Regions from separate parts of the Homo sapiens genome. Here region 1 is linked to region 2. The links are contacts of gene promoters, found by promoter capture Hi-C in blood cells and fetal thymus (Javierre and others, 2016). All regions are on one chromosome and are shown on one strand. Each heading gives the region's core, a stretch centred on a gene start or on the middle of the fragment in contact. The rest is flanking DNA. Distances are from core to core; before and after follow the strand shown. Region 1 overlaps USP15 (ubiquitin specific peptidase 15). Region 2 holds the start of AVIL (advillin).

Region 1 (5,462 bases), core at 2,849-5,348, 4.5 Mb after region 2:
TATGAGGCAGAAAATGGTGTGTCAAGGAAATGAAAGAAGGCTCTTGCAGCTGGATCTGGGCACAAAGAAAAATGGTACCAGCTGAGTCTAAAGAGGTAGCTAGGGATTAGATCATGCAAGACCTTTTAGACAATGTTAAGCATTTTAGACTTCATCCTACATAGTTATAACTATTTGTATTGGTTGATATCCTAATGACTTTAAGTCCATAAAAGAAACTCAAAGTGAAAATTGGGCTTATCTGGACCCTAATAGTATATAAGGATTAAGAATACCATTGAGAATATATGAATTCAGGTCTTTGTTCATTGTTTGTAGTCTTTGTAATCTGTTGATTCCGTTCTAGTATTTTATCAGTTCAGATTGAACATTGGGAATTTTGGCAGATTTCATAGATGTAGAAGTATAGTTTTTACAGTGCAACAGATCTATATAAATGTATTGAAATAAAATCTTTTCATTTATTTGTCTGTGTCATCTAATCTTACCTTTCTTAGTCTTCTTTCTTGTCTACGTCTTCTAATCTCATCTTTCTAATATATACCTAACAACACTATACATTGTTTCTGGAGTAGATTCTCCTATTTTTCTTTTTCTGTTTGCTTTTTGAGACAGAATCTTGCTCTATTGCCCAGGCTGGAGTGCAGTGGCATGCTCTCAGCTCAGTGCAACCTCCACCTCCTGGGTTCAAGCAATTCTTGTGCCTCAGCCTCCTGAGTAGCTGGGGTTACAAAAGTATGCGCCACCACACTTGACTAATTTTTGTATTTTTAGTGGAGACGGGGTTTCAACATGTGGGCCAGGCTGGTCTTGAACTCCTGGCCTCAAGTGATCCAGCCATCTTGGCCTCCCACAGTGCTGGGATTACAGGCGTGAGCCACAGCACCTGGCCAGATTCTCCTATTTTTCTACTTTCCTGATGTTTCATTACCATAAAATTGTGTAGATAGCCCTAAGAGAAATATGGTGCCCTTTTTCAATTGAAGATAGTATTGAAAGCAATTAAATATCATCAAATGGGAAAGTCTCCTATCATAATAGTATCATTGTACAGAAAGAAGTCACTACAAGATCTAGGAAAGATAGTTGATACAGAAATATATGACAATAGACAGTTGACATAGAAATGTATGACATTATAGAAGGTTTACCAAGTATATACTTTTAGTACCGCAGTCCCTTTTTATCTGCAGAGTATAAGTTCCAAGACCCTCAGTGGATGCCTGAACCTGCAAATAGTAGCAAACCTTATATACACTGCTTTTTCCTATGCTTACATATAATAAAGTTTAATTTATAGGCCAGGCACACTGGCTCATGTCTGTAATCCCAGCACTTTCGGAGGCCAAAGTGGGAGGGCACCTTGAGCCCAGGAGCTTGAAACCATCCTGGGCAACGTAGTGATATCTCATCTCTACAAAAAATAAACAAAATTAGCTGAGTTTGTGGCACATGCCTGTAGTCCCAGCTACTCAGGAGACTGAGGTGGGAAGATCACTTGAGCCAGGGAGGTTGAGACTACAGTGAGCTGTGATCATGCCCCACTGCACTCCAGCCTGGGTGACAGAGCAAGACCCTGTCTCCAAAAAAAAATAAATAAATAAGTTTAACTTATAAATTAGCCACAGGAAGATTAACAGCAACAATTAATAATAAAATAGGACAGTTATGACAATATTCTGTAAAAGTTATGTGGATGTGGTTTCTCAAAATACCTTACTGTACTGTACTTACCCTTTTTGTAATAGTGTGAGATGATAAAATGCATAGGTGATGAGATGACATGAGGTAAATGACATAGGCATTGTGATGTAAATGGAAGATTTCAGAAATAATTTATAGGTTTTAAATTACATGTGTGCTGCATAGCATGATGAAATACTGTGCCATTCCACCCAAACTGCCTTCAAGCCCTCTTGGTTATCAGGTTGACTGTTGCAGTATCACAATCCTTATGTTCAAGTATCCCTTATTTTATTTAATAATGACCCAAAATGCAAGAGTAGTGAGAGTACCACAGTTGACAGTTAACCCGCAGAAAGTGAAACTGCAGATAAAAGGAGGCTACTGTATAACTGTAAAGGATTTATTAAGTACTTTGGGAGATAAAACTCTATATCTTAAAAATGTCTAAGTAACTATAAATAGAATTTCTATACTTTTCCACAAATTGTTTTTAATGTGTTTTATAAATGATATTTGTAACTGTAGTATTAATGTTATCTCAAGTCCATATTCTATTTTTAATGGATATGGCATTAGCTTTTTAAGAAAACTAACGGGAAATTTTGCATTTCCATTTTAAAGGGAAAAATCAGTAACTAAGAAAAATTAACTGAAGATCAGAGTCTACCCTCCCAAATGATACTATACTCCCCAGTAGTTTTTCATACAAGTAAATCATTAAGGGGCAGATAACCCGTTACAAACTACTTTTGTAGATAGTAGAAGAGTAAAAGCTATTCCAGGTTTGTTCAGAAGAGTACAGGAGAAAAAGCTTGGCAAGTGCAGAAAATTTTCATCACCTTTAACACTTAGTCATGATAGTCTAAACAAATGTTGAATAGAAAGGAACTTCTCTAAGTTCATAAGCAGTATTTATCAAAAACCTACAGCAAGCTAATAAGCAGCATTTATCAAAAATCTACCTAGTGGTGAAACTTTAAATGTTGTCATAAAAAAAAAGACAAAAATGTTTGCTGTCTCTTCACCTATATTTTAGGAGCCCTAGCCAAGAAAAATAGGCAATAGACAAGAACAATAGGAATACAATTAGAAAGGAATGATTAAACACATTATTTGCAGCAACAGTATGAGTTTTTACATAGAAAAATCTAAGGGAACCTACAACCAGGTAAAACTACTAAGAGTTCAGGATGCTGGTGGATATCAGATTAATCACTTAAAAAAATTAGGCTGAGCACAGTGGTTCATGCTTGTTATCCTAGCACTTTGAGAGGCCGAGGCAGGCGGATCACTTGAGGCCAGGAGTTTGAGACCAGCCTGGCTAAGATGGCAAAACCCGGTCTTTACTAAAAATAGAAAAATTAGCTGGGCATGGTGGCACAAGCCATAATCCCAGCTACTCTGGAGGCTGAGGCACGAGAATTGCTTGAACCTGGGAAGTGGAGGTTGCAGTAAGCCAAGATCGTGCCACCACACTCCAGCCTGGGCAGCAGAGCGAGACCCTATCTCCAAAAAACAAACAACAAATATTATTTCTATGCATCAACTACAAGCAGTTATAGAATTTAATTAATTGGGGAAAAAATGTAAAATTCACATAGAAAAACTGAGGTTTCTAGGAACGAATTTAGCAAAACATGATTTTTATTGGAAAAACATATAAAATTTATTGAAAGACATTAACCTGAATAATGGAGAGATACGCCGTGGCTGTGGATAAGAAGACTCACTTTGGTAAAGATGGCAGTGTCCCTCAACTTTGTAAGTGTAATGTACTTCCAATCAAAATCTTATTAGACTTTTTTGTGGAACTTTGCGAAGAAAGCAAGTCGAATGTCTGAGTATAAGTAAAGTCATTGCTAGTCTAGTCAATATTTATTTTAGAAAATAGGATTTTCTTAAGACTTAGTCCCTCAATTCTTTTCTCACAAATCTTAAATTCCACAATGTGTGGGGGCTTTCAATTGCATAATCTTGACAGTGAGTTCAGAATACTGGTACATAGATAATTCTGCATATCCACTTTTAGGGAGTTAAACTCATGAATATTCTTTAAGAAATCTGAGGTTTTGTTAGGTTAGTGCCTTTGCTTTAGCTATTTTCGGACGTAACTGTGGGTTTTTGTTCTTATAGTGCTATATATGGTAAGCATAGAAAAGAAACACTAGAATGGATAATCTTCTAAAAAGCTTTGTTACCTGTAGTATTACACACATGAGCTTTAAATCTCTCATTAACCTTTATCTTTACCTTTGATTCTGCTTGTGATTGAACCTGGTTAAATGTGGGAGAAATGTTTCTAGAAAAATTTAAAATCATTGTGAACCAATGACAAAGCAGTATTTTATAGCAGGCATACTGTAGTCAGAATAAATTTTTACAATGTTTTAGGTTTTTTTTTAATGCTTTCTATCCTAGTGAACTCTTGTTTTACTTTTTCTGTCATTGGTCATCTGATGAGAAGCTAGTTTCTAGGCAGCTGAAAATAAGATGGATATAGTTTCAGTAATGTTTACAGTGTTAGCTGTATCACACTTTTGAAATCATTCAAAAACCAATCCTGCTTGCCCCATATTTTACTACTATAGGAGGAACAGTCAGAGATAGTATTGTTGTTATTAACTTCTGTTGGTAAAGAAGCTTAATTAAGGTTTTAAGAGTTGATTATACTTTCTATTAATATTTTTATAGATTTAGGGACTACAAATGCAGTTTTGTTACATGGATGAACTGCATAATGGTGAAGTAAGGGCTTCTAATGTAGCCATCAGCTGAATAGTGTATATTGTACTCATTTAATAATTTATCATCCCTCTCCTGCCTCCCACCCTTCTGAGTCTCCAATGTCTGTTATTCACGCTCTATGTGTATACATGATTTAGCTCCCACTTATAAGTGATAACATGCAGTATTTGATTTTGTATTTCTGAATTATTTCCCCTAAGATAATGGCCTCCAGTTCCATCCATGTTGCTGCAAAAAACATGGCTTCCTTCTTTTTTATGGCTAAGTAGTATTCCATGGTGTTTGTGTCTTTGTGTTTGTGTATGTGTGTGTGTACATGAGTGTGCCACATTGTCTTTATCCAGTCATCCATTTATGGACACTTAAAGTGTTTCCTAAGATAATGGCCTCCACTTCCATCCATGGTGCTGCAAAAAACATGGTTTTATTCTTTTTTATGGCTGAGTAGTATTCCATGGTGTGTGTGTGTGTATCCATATATGCTACATTGCCTTTATCCAATCATCCACTGATGGACACTTAGGTTGTTTCCATATCTTCACTATTGTGAATAGTGCTGTGATAAACATACAAGTGCAGGTGTCTTTTTGATAGAATGATTTCATTTCCTTTGGGTATATACCTAGTAGTGGAATTACTAGATCCAGTGATAGTTCTATTTTTAGTTTTTTGAGAAATCTCCATACTGTTTTCCATAAAGGTTGTACTAATTTCCATTCCCTCCATTCCCACCATTCCTTTTCTTCTGCATCCTTGCCAACATCTGTTATCTTTTGAGCTTCTAATAATAGCCATTCTGACTGGTATGGATGCTTTTTCACTGTGGTTTTACTTGTATTTATCTGATAATTAGTGATGTGGAATTTTTTTTCATATGTTGACCATTCATATGTGTTAGTTTGAAATTTTTCTGTTTAGAGTAAACAGACAATCTACAAAATGGGAGAAAATATTTTCAAACTATGCATACAACAAAAGACTAATATCTGGACTCTATAAGGAACTTAATAAGAAAAAAAACGCCCATTAAA
Region 2 (5,080 bases), core at 2,184-4,683:
GACCTGGGACTCACAATCTCTGCGAGGCTTGCTGGAGAGCTGACTCCCCCTCCTGGTTGAGGATAGTGAAGTGAGGCATCATCGCTGGGTTTTAGGCAGCAGCAACTGACTGGGCTCAGGGCAGGGGTTGGGGGGAATCCTCGTATCTGGCAGGTGGAGCTACCCAGGCCAGGGTGGTTCCCAGCTATGGATTGCTGGAGCTCACAGCCGCACAGAGGGTCCCAAGCCCAAGAGGAGACGGGCTGAACAGCTCCTCATCTCTGCAGTGCCCCCTCACCTCTCCCCATATTTTGTAGGAGCCAGGGTGCCCCGTGGAAGACATGTTCCATTTCTCTGATGGAAGCTGCCAGGAGTCTGCTGAGTAGGTCCCACCTGTCTTTCCAGGGTGTTTCCTGCAAGTGCAGACTCACTGAGCAGGTGGCTGGCTAAAGGACAAGCCTGTTTTTGTCTGGAGCCCTGTTCTTCGGGGCTGAACATTTCCTCCACCTGCCAACCACCTGCTTTGAGCACCCAGGAGAGGTGAAGGATGGGAAATAGGTACTTTGATGCTGCCTCTCATTCTCCTCAAACCATAGGCTAAGGGGTGCTGGCGGGCTGTTGCCTAGCAGCCCCAGGCAGCCAGACTGCTTCCAGATGCCAGTGGTCACAAGTAAGGTGCCTCCAGCCCAGCTCACCTCTATTCTCCAGACAATGATCCCAGGGTCGTTGTCCACAGCCCTGAAGGCACTGGTCAGAGGCATGATGCTTGTCTTTCCAGGACTGAAACATCACAGAACAAGAGGGGAGATGATATCTCTTGCCATAGTGGGCATCAATCCAGTTTTTCTGCCGAGCTGCTTCCCAGTCTGTTGTCAGCCATCCTGCCACACCCTCATGGTGCATCCCTGCACCATTTCACAATGATGGGGGCAAGGACTTGTCCAAGTGCACATGGTGAGCCTGGCTGGCCTGGGGATTACCACCCATGAGTTCTGCTTCCCACCTGCCATTGCCCTTAAGAGCTCTGGTAATCGTCATGGTTATTTACCAAAGGGGTGATAAATATGTTAAGCCCTGTATTGATTCACTTTGCATATGTTATCTCTAATTTTCAGAAGGTGAGTTTCTTCATCTTACATTGTGTGAATCTGAGGTTTGCAAAGGCTGAATAACTTGTACAAGATCACACTCTAGAATGAAATCCTTATCTGATCCCCAAACCTGTGCTTCTAGCCACTTTGATGTACTACAACCCTTCCTAAACCAATCTAAGTTCAGTGGCATTTGGAAAGAAAAGCTAGTCAGAAAAAATATTTCCAAACTCAGTTGCCTTCTCTCACTCTCATTCCAATTCTTCCCAAGTTCCCTGCTTGCAAGGCCTTCTCCACAGTCAACTTTGACCTTCTCTTTGGCTTTTGTCCTTTTTTTTTTTTTTTTTTTTTTTTTAGAGTAAACTATTCTTAAACTCAAACAACCCTTCCTTCTTTTGTCACTACTATATTCCCTGTGCTTTCCAGATGCAAGGAAAGTAAAATGGCAGGGCTGGGCCTGGGACAAAGGGTTCTGGGTGCTAGCAGGGTGTGGCCTGGTCTGGCCTGCGGACAGATGGCTTCCTTTTTCCCTCCCACACAGACCCAAGCTTCTGTGTGGAAGCGTGAACCTCAGACACTTAGACGTCTCCAGTTCCTTCAGGATTGAGCAAGTCAGGGTGGGGAGAGGGGGGAAGTGGTAAAGATCTAAGTCTGTGTAGGTCGTGTACCATCTGTATTCAAGGAGCATCTTGGGTAATTAAGCACCTACCCATGTCCAAGGCCACGTAGAGGCTTTATAGAATTAAAATACCTGCTCTCAAGGAGCTTGAAATCTGATAACATGCATAATTAATGTAAAGCTAGATTAATTTCTCCCAAGAGGCAAAGGAAAAAGGATGGGGTTGATGGATTTATGTAAGATTTAAAAATTCACCCAGAAAGGACTGTATGCATTTTTGCTGTTTGGGGACATACTGTTTGTTAAGAGGAACATGTCTGACCATTGTTTTCTTGAACCTTGATGGACAAAGCCAAGTTTGGAGAGCATGCGCCATCTAGTATGGACTTTGGCAAAAAACCATAAAGCTCAAAGCAGACTCGCTTTGTCTACTGCTGTAGCAGGACTAAAGCAAGGCAATGGTGCGGAGCAGCCAGTGTTTGAGAATTTAATTTGATAACTTGTGCTGCCCCACCCTGTGCTGCTCAGAATTGCCAGGAAATATGGTGTTTGGGTTTTCTTCAGACCCTACGTAGCAGTCATTAAAGGCAAAAGCCATGAGCCAACTAGGGGAAGGGGACAAGGGCCACTGAATTCATTCCTTGGAGACAGAGAACTGTCACCCTGGTAAAAGCCAAACCAGCCGGCAGCAATTAGGACTGTGAGCCTCAGAGGCTGAAACCTGTCCCGTTTCCCAGCAGGAATTTAGGAATCAAGGAGCTCCCTGGGCCAGGCACCCCGAATGCGAGAGGATAAGCTCCAGGAAGGGACTTCCTGTCACACTGGAACACACAGAAAACACAGTTCTGACATCAAATCTCCCAAAGCTGGGTCTCTCCTTCTCCCTAAATCCTAATTCAGTATCCTTTGAGAGGACTGCAGAAACCCCTTGGGTGTGGGGCACAGTTTTGAAATGTCAGGTTAAAAGCCAGTGGCCTGTAATTCTCAGAGATGCCCTTTTGGACGGACCCTGAGCAGAGGAAGCTGTTTTTTGTTGTTGTTGTTTTTGAGACAGGGTCTTGCTCTGTCACCCAGGCTGGAGTGCAGTGGTACAATCACGGCTCACTGCAACCGCCACCTCCTGGGCTCAAGTGATCCTTCTGCCTCAGCCTCCTGAGAAGCTGAGACCACAGGTGTGCACCACCATGCTTGGCTTTTTTTTTTTTTTTTTTTTTTTTTTTTTTTGTAGAGACAGGGTCTCACTATGTTGCCCAGGATGGTCACAAGTTACAAACTCCTGGGCTCAAACAATCCTCATGCCCTGGCTTCCCAAAGTGTTGGGATTACAGGTGTAAGCCACCTCTCTGGGCCAGGAAGCTGGTTTTAACTCCTCCTGCCTTGCTCCATACCATCTTTCTCTAGGGATAGGTGAAAGGGGTCTGTCTTTCCCAGCTTTTGAAAATGTGCCCTATATGTTCAGCTGCCTCTAAGGGGTTCTTCTGAACAAGAAGTTTGCAAAACTGGCCAGCCAGACTCCTGGTTCATTTTAAAAGCCTCATCTCAGAAGACAAAGCCAAGGGACTCTCAAGCTCCTCTTCCTTTCATTTCTTCCTCATTCAGGAGGATTAACTGGCATGCCCCCGTAAATCAGAGACCTTACCTTGCCTTCTCGCTCACCAGCCTTCCCAGTTTCCCGGCGCGTAAGCAGCAGCAGTATTGAAGAACCACTCCAAAGCAGGAGGCTCCAGGTCCTGCTGCCTTAGCTTAGTAATGGCCGCAGAGATACTGGGTTATATTTGCTTGTGTTTGCATCTTAACCGCATTTTCCTAGTCCTGGCCAATCAGAGCCAACCTAGCACTGAGCTTGGCTTATTCAAACCAGAGGGAAAGCTTTATCTGTGCCTATTCAAAACAGCAAAACAGAAGAGCAGACTTTTAAAGGCTTCTTTGAACTCCAGCTCCACGCCCTGATCTAATTGATTTTTTAAAAAGTGCACACAGCCCATCAATAATGCAGGAAAGAGGTTGGAAGGATATGAAATTTGCCATATTGTAGATATGGATGCATTATGGTGATGACAGGAGGAAGAGGCTGGAGCTGCCCCATGAGTGCCTGTGATGTCTAGGTTGGCAAGAGCCTCCCTAAGAAGCTTCTGGCATTTCTCAAAGGGAGGGGAAGTCTGGGAGAGGAGCCAGAATTTTATTAGGCCACAGTTTTGCTCGTTGGGGTCTCTACTAGTCATACAGTAAACCAATCAATATTTGAGTGCCTGCTGTTTGCCAGGAACCATGCTGGGCTCTCAGCTTCAGGGTTTCCAGTTTGGAAGAATCAGTGAGGGGCAGAGAAGAATCAAGACTCCATTCCCAGGGCTGGGTGTGGTGGTGGCTCACGCCTGTAATCCCAGCACTTTGGGAGGCTGAGGTGGGTGGATCACAATGTGAGGAGTTTGAAAACAGCCTGGCCAAGATGGTGAAACCCCATCTCTACTAAAAATACAAAAATGAGCCGGGCGTGCTGGCAGGCGCCTGTAATCCCAGCTACTCAGGAGACTGAGGCAGGAGAATCGCTTGAACCTGGGAGGTGGAGGTTGCAGTGAGCTGAGATCATGCCACTGCCTCTAGCCTGGGCAACAGAGCAAGACTCCATTTCAAAAAAAAAAAAAAAAATAATAATCCATTCCCTTAGGGCTTCTGGTTCATGCCCAGAAGTCAATAGGACATCAAGCATATACACGTGCTAAGCACCTGACTGCAATGGGGTTGATCACAGCAGAACTTGTGTAACCTTGAGCGGAAGCCCTGTGTGGCATCTGCAGCTGGCCTCCCGGTGGGTGCAACACCCCACTCAGCCCGGGGGTGCAGCTGCTTCATGATGGAAGGGGTTGCGAGAAGAAAGGCGGTGCTTGCCATGGGCCCAGTGAACACTTAAGGGCCAATGAAGGTTGGTGGCAGCTCACATTCCTGGAAAGGTTTTTTAAACCCACTTTTATTAATTAATTGTAAGTAATACAAATATTCCAAAAATATAAACAGACACTTAATGGCGTCCTGCATTTCAAGTTTTTGAATACAACAAATTTATCAAACCATGAATCTGTAAGCAAGGTAGTCAGAATCCCATAGCCCAGTCACAGTGGGAAGCAGATCCCCTACCCTCCAAATGGCATCTTGAAGGGGGAAAGCGGCACGAAATGGAACATGATAAGCAAAAAAGCTCACGAGGCCCAAAGAGGAGGGTCCGCTCCATGGGCAGGCCCTACAACGTTAAAAGAATGGGGCAGCTGGCCCGACCTCTGGCCTCCTCTTCCCTGGCTGAATGTAAATATTTACCAGCATTTAGAAAAAAGGAGAAAAAAGACAGAACTAAACCCGTTTAGGAAAAAGGGACCGAGGGACAGCAGTGGTTAAGTAA

Evidence for each region. Contacts are between HindIII fragments. The CHiCAGO score rates a contact against its expected background, and 5 or more counts as called.
Region 1: a contact is called between a fragment that was not itself captured here and the fragment with the promoter of AVIL in region 2, in 1 of 17 cell types (M1 macrophages). The highest score is 6.4, in M1 macrophages.

What each region holds. Positions count from the first base shown.
Region 1 is chr12:62,280,747-62,286,208 of GRCh38, forward strand. The region is part of intron 1 of USP15 (ubiquitin specific peptidase 15); the gene reads left to right. Among named protein-coding and RNA genes, the nearest start is that of USP15, 23 kb to the left of the region's middle. The HindIII fragment of the contact is 451 bases long and covers 3,874-4,324 here.
Region 2 is chr12:57,815,301-57,820,380 of GRCh38, forward strand. AVIL (advillin) reads right to left here and starts at 3,434. Exons shown (of 20, transcript NM_006576.4): 1 at 3,329-3,434; 2 at 675-759. The coding sequence starts at 740. It overlaps CTDSP2 (CTD small phosphatase 2), which reads right to left. Exons shown (of 8, transcript NM_005730.4): 8 at 4,627-5,080. The HindIII fragment of the contact is 1,940 bases long and covers 1,617-3,556 here.